2 separate regions of the Homo sapiens genome follow, and region 1 is linked to region 2. Evidence: promoter capture Hi-C in human tissues and cell types (Jung and others, 2019). All regions are on one chromosome and are shown on one strand. Each heading gives the region's core, a stretch centred on a gene start or on the middle of the fragment in contact. The rest is flanking DNA. Distances are from core to core; before and after follow the strand shown. Region 1 has its middle 41 kb from the start of APOD. Region 2 holds the start of APOD (apolipoprotein D).

Region 1 (3,867 bases), core at 1,328-3,827, 42 kb after region 2:
ACAGAAAAACTCAATTAGCTTGTTTGTGTGGGCTGAAGCACCTCTGTTTGCCCGCCCCCCGCAGTGACCCCCATAGTGTCCCCGGAATGGACGGACTCACGGGCTGTCACATCGCGCACGTCTTCCCCGGAGAAGGGATGTGAATCTTGGTGGGGTGGGGGGCACTACCTGGCCCAGCACAGGGTGCAGGTGGGTGACCCGGGAGACTCTCCCCGCTCCAGACCTGTCATCATGTTGCCATCTGAGGCGGCACTCACAGGTTTGCGGGGCTGCACATCTTTGGGGGCCTCCACTCAGCCTGGCACAGTGTGTGCCCAGCAAGTAGACGACCGCATCCTCGCCAGCATACATGTGCTAGAAACTTCTGTCAGGAAACGCCGCTCTTCACAGCCAAGGGTGGAAACTACTGGATGCATTGCAGAGCTGACGCCCTCCCTCCGGCCTGGCTCCGAGCCATGCCTGGTGTGGTGGAGGGGTGGAGGCCACCCTCACCGGGCCCTGTGTGCTGCTCTGATGCCGCTGAGGGGGCCGGGGCCTGGGTGTGCCCTCAGCGCATCCACTGCAGAGGGGAGCCTGCGCCCACGTTTTGGCTCTGTGGGTAAAGGTGGCCACCCCCTGAGCTTGTAGAGGTGTGGGACACTTCCCGATGCTGCCTGCCATGATTTTACATGAAAAGCCAGGAAAAGGCACTGAGGAGCCACCTGACCCCACGGAATGCCATTTCCTGGGGTTGCTTGGCCAGAAGTCATTGACACAGCCCTGCCAGCCAGAAGCTGGGGCAGGGACGGGGTCCTGCCTTCTGGGACAGGTTCTGTGTGTGCGTGACCATGTCCCAGAGGTCTCTGCTCAGCCCTGGGGGCGGGTGGGGGTGGGGTTGGAGGGTGGATGGTGGGGGTGGGGCCAAGTTAGCCCGAGCGGTCTGTGAGGTGAGAAGGGCCGGGGTCTCTCCTCCTCTCCTCCGCACCCCACCCCGCCTTGCTCTGAATCTCTCCCTCTCTCTGTCTCTGTTGGTCTCTTTCCCTCTCTACTCCCCATTCTGGTGTCTTTGGAGCCCTGGGTAAGGTGTGTGCTGAGTCCGGTCTGGTTTGGGGTAGATGTTCTTTGATCTGTTACCACACCTGGAGGGAAAGCCCCTGGCCCGCCCCCCCTCCGTTCCTGCAGAGCCAGGCCCCCCAACCAGTCGGTGGGCAGGATGCCCACCAGTTGCCCCCATCTGGCCCAGGGGGACCTTTCCTCTGCTCTCCAGGGACCACTGCAGGTGGTGTGGCCCCTGAGGGGAGCATAAGGGTGCAGTGCCTGACTCAGGGGACACAGAAGCCCCGTCCATACGGCCTTTTACACAGCACAGCACCCAGCCCTCGGCAGCCCAGAGCAGGAACCAACAGGGTAGGTGCCCAGGGGCCCCAAAGGTCAGAGTTCCTCGCACAGCTGCCAGGGAGCACAGGGACCGCAGCACAGGGTCTTCTGCTCAGCACCGGGACCCCGCTCGCTGCAGCTAAAGAAACAGATACGTCCAAGGGCTCCACGGCCGGGGCCGGGCACCTGGAACAGGGTGGTCCTGGGGCGGCCACATCCACTCCTTCCAGGTGAGTTCCCGGTGACTCTCGGCCTGCAGTCGGCCTTGCTGAATTCTCTTAGGCCACCTGGCTGCCCCCTGCTACGCGTCCAGCTGTTGATCGCCCACTGACCTGTAGAAGACCTGGTCAGCCCCTCTGTCTTCCGTCACCCATGGAGGCGCCTGCAGGTGCTCCGCGCAGCCCGCCCGGCCCTGCACAGACCCGAGGCGGCACCAGGGGGCGCTGCCGGCCCGAGGACGCGGGCGCGGGGCGGAGGCTGCGGGGCAGGAGCCGCTGTGCGCGTTCAGGCAGCTGCCCGGGACCCCTGGCACCGACCGCAGCCCCCAGAGGCCCCCGGGGGGTTTCCGCCTGAGCCTAAACCGAAGACAGGGCATGTTTTCAGTCATCCCGACCCCACAGACTCAGCCCGTTAGTTCCCGCGCTGCCCGGCGCCCTAGTACCCAGAGCCGGTGGGGACTCCAGGCCACCAAAGGCAGGGGCGGGGCGGGCGGTTGAAGGAAGATTGGGACACGGAGAAGAGGGACAAGGCCTGGGGCCCGAGGGGTCAGGACGCTCTGCCAGCCTCACCACCCGCAACACCCAGGCACGGACGCACGCACACACTCCACACGTGTGAACACGCACGCATGGCTGCACACACGTGCACAGAGAGGCACAGCCCGCAGGAACACAGATGCACGCACACAGGCACAGGCACGCTCCCTCACTCACTCTCTCTCACACACCCCAGGTGCAGACACCCCCACCCAGAGGTTGCAGCTCGGATGGAGAAACAGGCTGGGTCACAAAAGCCCCGGGAGGCAGCCCCTGCTGTCTGGCGTCTTCTCTGGGGAAAGCTTTCCGGAGCCTGATGGAGGAAGACAGAGGAAAGAGACCTGTGTTCCCTGATGCACTGGCCAGCCGCTTCCCGGGGAGGAGGAGGCAGAAATACACAGTAACTGATTGTTGCCTTTGGTCTGTGAACTGTACTATGGAACACTGGAACTTACTCCTTCACCTGACTGCATGTTTGTGCCCCATAACCAGCCTCACTTTCTGTCTGCCTCTCACCCACACACCCTGCCTAGCCTCTGGGAACCACCAGCCAACTCTCTGCCTCTGTAAGAGCCACTCTTTCAGTGCCCACAAATGAGTGAGAACATGGTACATTTGTCTTTCTACCCCGGCTTACTTCCCTTAACATGACAGCCTTCAATTCCATCCATGTTGTTGTAAACGACATGATTTCATTCTTGTTTATGGCTGCGGAGTATTCCATTGCGTAAGATACCACGTGTTCTGTATCCATTCATCCATTGATAGGCACCCAGGTTGATTCCATTTGGCTTTTGAAAGTGTGTAGTTGGAGAATCCAATGTGCCCCCTCGGGTTTTCAAAATGTGGGCATCTTGAGTGCGGGAAAGGAAGTGCCTGCCGCTCCCCAGGGCACCCGGTGGCATCTGCAGAGGGGAGGCAGCCACAGCAGGCCTGCCGTGGTGACAGCAAATAGCCAGGCGGCCAGGGAGGCTCCTGCGGTGACAGCCCCGGGTCACAGGGTCAGAAGCAGCCCACCGGGGCCGGGGTGGCTTGCGTTAGTTTGGGAACATTTTAAGCCATTACCACTTTAAATACTGATTTTGCCTATTCTTTCTCTCCTTCCCAGAACTCCAGTTACTCACGTGTGGTGTCTTCTCATTGTGTCTGCTGTCTCTTCCCATCTCACTGGGGCAGTAGGGCTGCCATAAGCCAGCACCACAGACCAGGGGCTCCACAACCCTGGTGGCTGCAAGTTCAAGATCAACACAGGGACAGGGTTAGTCTAGTGAGGCCTCTCTTCCTGGCTTGTGGAGGGCCACCTGCTCCCTGTGTGCACAAGGCCTTTTCTCTGTGCACACGCATGTGCACGCGCACACACGTGCACACACATGCACACACGCGCACACACACGTGCACACACACGCACACATGCACACACACGCACGCAATCTGGTGTCTCTTCCTCTTCTCATAAGGACTCCAGTCCTATCGGATCAGGGCCCCACCCTGCTGGCTGCACTTCACCTTAATTACCTCCCTAATGTCTTCTCTCCAGACAGACTCTCCTTGGTGGGTGGGGCTTTGTGAGGGTTTGAATGTCCGTGTTCCCCGAAATTCATCTGTTGAAATCCTCACCCCCAAGGCGATGGTGTTAGGAGATGGGGCCTGTGGTAGGGACGGGGTCCTGAAGGTGGACCGCTGATCATGGGATCGGTGTCCTCATAAAAGAGGCCCCAGAGCGCCCCTCCCCCATCCCCCATGTGAGGACGCAGTG
Region 2 (4,115 bases), core at 1,491-3,990:
CCAGCTGGGGTTGCTGCAGGGGGAGATGGTTGCTGAGGCCCCTTTGAGCAAGTCTGCCACAGGGCCACTTTCCCTGGTCTCTGAGGTTCCGTTTCTCATCGGCTCCACCACTGTATAAACAAAACCTGTCTTTTAACCTTTTGGGGGATGATGAATTTATAGAAATGCAGCCTAAACCCACACAAATTTGCATCCATTTTAAAGAGATCTTGAATTCTACTTAGTAGGCCCAAGCTGAAAGCCTGGCCCAGAGGATCAAACCTCAAAGACTGGCCACACACTATGCACATTCCACAAGGTCCCCACACTGGATAGGACCTTAGAGGTCATCTTTCTAGCTCTACTTCCAAGGTGTACAGATGGGGAAGCTGGGGCCTGGAAGGGGCAGAGAGCTGGGACTCGAGCTCCATCTCCCCCTCTCCTGTCTGCAGCACCCCGAATCTGCTTCTTCTGTGCACCGCCATAGGGCCTTTCAATAACCCCCCACCTCTGTGACCTGATGAGTCTCACCACCACATGACACTGCAACAAAAGTCAGTTCTACATCTTACTCTGACAAAATGCTCTCTTGTGAGCTGAAACAGATTCTTTACCTCAGTAGGAGGATTTCAGAACAACCCCTTTGACTGACCCTCTTCCAAAGATGCCTCTTGGTTACATTAGTTTTATTCCTGTGGTTAAAACTCCTTGTGATGCCAGGTGCGGTGGCTCAAGCCTGTAATCCCATGGGAGGCCGAGGCAGGTGGAGCACCTGAGGTTGGGAGTTCAAGACCAGCCTGACCAACATGGAGAAACCCTATCTCTACTAAAAATAAAAAAATTAGCTGGGCATGGTGGTGCATGCCTGTAATCCCATGCTGCCTGTAATTACATGCATGCCTGTAATCGGGAGGCTGAGGCAGGAGAATTGCTTGAACCCGGGAGGTGGAGGTTGTGGTGAGCTGAGATTGCATCATTGCACTCCAGCCTGGGCAACAAGAGCAAAACTCCGTCTCAAAACAAGCAAACAAACAACAACAACAAAAAAACTCCTTGTGAGAGAAAGGGCGGACAGCATCCATTATAGTTTTCAATGTCCTTTCATTCTAATTTACTCATTACTTATTGAGCATGTTATTAATGTGTACTTAAGACTTTGGGTAACATATGGATTATATACGACATATATTTTTGCATCTTCTTCTGATATCAATAGGAAGATTGTTCTTATGAGGAGTTTAAATACTTTACAAAATAAGTATAATTTAAATATTATTTTTGGCCGGGCATGATGGCTAATGCCTGTAATCCCAACACTTTGGGAGGCCGAGGTGGGCAGATCACTTGAGGTTAGGAGTTTGAGACCAGCCTGGCCAACATGGCGAAACCCCGTCTCTACTAAAAATACAAAAAATTAGCCAGGTGTGGTGGCAAGTACCTGTAATCACAGCTACTCGGGAGGCTGATGCAGGATAATTGCTTGAACATGGGAGGCAGAGGTTGCAGTAAGCCAAGATCACACCATTGCACTCTAGCTTGGGCAACAGAGCAAAAACTCCATCTCAAAAAAACAAAACAAAAACAAACAAACAAAAAATACAAAAATTAGCTGGGCATGGTGGTGCAGTCCTGTAATCCCAGCTACTTGGGAGGCTGAGGCACAAGAATGGCTTGAACCTGGGAGGCGGAGGCTGTAGTGAGCCGAGATCGCGCCACTGCACTCCAGCCTGGGTGACAGAGTGAGACTCCGTCTCAAAAAAAAAAAAAAAGAAATATGATTTTTAACAGAATATGAGGTAATTAAAAAGCAATCCAACTAAGGTGACAGTGCATCCACCTTGGGCCTGGCACTAGCTGGAAATCACTGCTCCACTTGCATTAAGCTTACCCGTGGAGAAGCCCTGGTCCCAGGATTTTAAGGGTGCTATGCGCTCAGTCTCCACAGCACCTCCTCTGGAGGCGACCTCTGCTGACACTCTCTTCATACCAACGAGGTGAATTTGCCCGGGTTACTTCCTGGTAAACTACGAAGCCACAGTGTAAGCCTAGGCCTGGGGACAGGCTAGAATGTAAGCCTAGGTCTCCCACAAGCCCGCGCTCTTAGTGCCTGGGGACACAGCCCCTGACCTCAAAGATCTGCAGAACGTGAAGGACTAGATTTTGAAATTTCACCTCATAAAATAAAATAGGTTCCAATAAGTCATTAGGTCTCAAAGACTCATTTAGCCATTAAATATAACAAGACACGTATCTCCCAAACACAATATTTTATGCCATATTGTCAAATGCATTTTCTAGTCACACCATTAATTCCAGTTTCCAGATTATTTTACTGCGATGCACCGTTGGACAGCTTGCTGAGAATTCACCTAGGACGGTGTTTGTGCATGGAAACACCTCGTTGTCCAGTTTGGAGGGGTAAGCAAAAGACGCTGGGATGAGTTCACACTGGGTTTGGTTTTATCTTAGGCATGTTGCTAGTGTATCTGAACCTCAGCTTTATCACTGGAAAAATGGCTCTGATGATACCTACCTTGTACATTTGTTTGAGGAAAAATGAGAACAAGTCTAAAGCTACCGGCACAAGCTCTCAATCAGTGGTAGTTATATGTAGCTGAAATGGGGCAATGGAGAGTCTAGACTGTTTCTATTTTAGACATTATTATCATAAATGAAAAGCTTAAAACTACAGTACATACCTTTTCTTTCAAGATGAAGGCAGTTTCCAGATGCAGAATCAGCCGATTTGAGATGCCTGTCTTGGTGACTGGCCTCTCCCAAGCTATTTTATAAGCTTCTTCAGGTCTCTGATGTTTACTTTTCATGCATGCCACGCCCGCCGCCCCCATCCAGTCAGGAGGGTTGGCCTAAAAGCTTAGTCTGTATCGAAACACAAAGATGGGATGTTGTGTCCATCCTCCTCCCCCGATTTCCTTCACAGCTGCTCCCTGAAGAAGAAATGAGATATTGTTTTCGCGCGCGCGTGTGTGTGTGTGTGTGTGTGTGTGGGTATGTGTGCGAGAGAGAGAGAGAGTATGTGTGAGAGAAAGATAAAGTATATTTTCATCCAAAACATTTTTTTTTTTGCTATGTGGATTTTCTAATTTAATTTTTTTGGTCAGAATGCACTTTTAAGTTCCAGCAGGACGTGTTGCAACATGTTTTCAAACATCTGGTATTTATTTTTCATTTTTGTGTAAATGAAAAATCAACAAGCTCATTTCCTGAAGTGGAACATGGAGTTCCTGACTCCACTAATGGGAGTCAGGTAATGGCGCGAGGGTTATGAGTCAAAGCTGGCTTTCTCCAGGATCCTGGGCAGCCCCCTAACTTCTCTGAGCCACAGTCTCCTCGTTGTAAGTAGGGGCTGTCATTCTTTCTCCACCAGAGCCAGACGTGTAGGGGAGATACCAGTTCTCTAACAACTGGGGCTAAAAGTTGAGAATGCAGAAGACATCTTCTGTCGCTCTGTTCTCTGTCCCTTTTATGACCCTTGCAGCGAGAAGTTCAAGACAGTCTGTCACTGCTTGGGGGTGGGGGCCGGGGTGGTGGGGAGTGTGGACTTAAACCCAGGGGTGCTTTTGGTCCAGCCTTATCTCTCCTGGTGGAATGAACAACTTTGACTCTTGTGAGTGAGATTCTATGTCTTTGTGATAGGCAGGAGGTATGTTTAGAGACATTTAGATAAGGCAGTGCCTTCGTAGTAGACTTAGACTCCTAAATGAAATTCATTCTAAAATATGTAAGCAACAGAGATACATTTACAGCACTGAGTCTATAAACATGAAAACAACAACACAGATCCGTAACATCCCAAACGTTGTGAGCGCTTTCTTTAAGATGTTCTTTGCCTTTTCAGAAACATAAGAAATTCCTACTACCACCCAGGGCCTGCCTCTCGCTGACCTCCTGTGCTGCCCTCCCCTAAGAGCTCTGTGTAGCTCCCTTCCCCACTCCAGGTCCCTGATCAGATGACACTTTTCCCTAAAAAGCTTCCTGACCTTTCAAAAATAGCACTCTTGTCACTGTCCCTTTCCCTGCTTCATTATATCTTTACCTGAAATTCTCTCCTTTATTTATACATTATCCTGCTTAGTATGTTTTCCCCAGGAGGATAGGAGCTTGAGGCGTGCCAG

The links. The method cuts DNA at HindIII sites, captures the fragments that hold promoters and counts their contacts. A contact is called where the count stands out against the background at its distance.
Region 1: a fragment that was not itself captured here is called in contact with the fragment with the promoter of APOD in region 2 in 2 of the 25 tissues and cell types used here (bladder and psoas muscle).

What each region holds. Positions count from the first base shown.
Region 1 is chr3:195,623,024-195,626,890 of GRCh38, forward strand. No RefSeq gene overlaps it. Among named protein-coding and RNA genes, the nearest start is that of APOD, 41 kb to the left of the region's middle. RefSeq lists an enhancer at 952-1,948. The HindIII fragment of the contact is 8,411 bases long and covers 1-3,867 here.
Region 2 is chr3:195,581,200-195,585,314 of GRCh38, forward strand. It overlaps APOD (apolipoprotein D), which reads right to left and starts at 2,741. Exons shown (of 5, transcript NM_001647.4): 1 at 2,679-2,741. RefSeq lists an enhancer at 2,192-2,361. The HindIII fragment of the contact is 4,834 bases long and covers 2,261-4,115 here.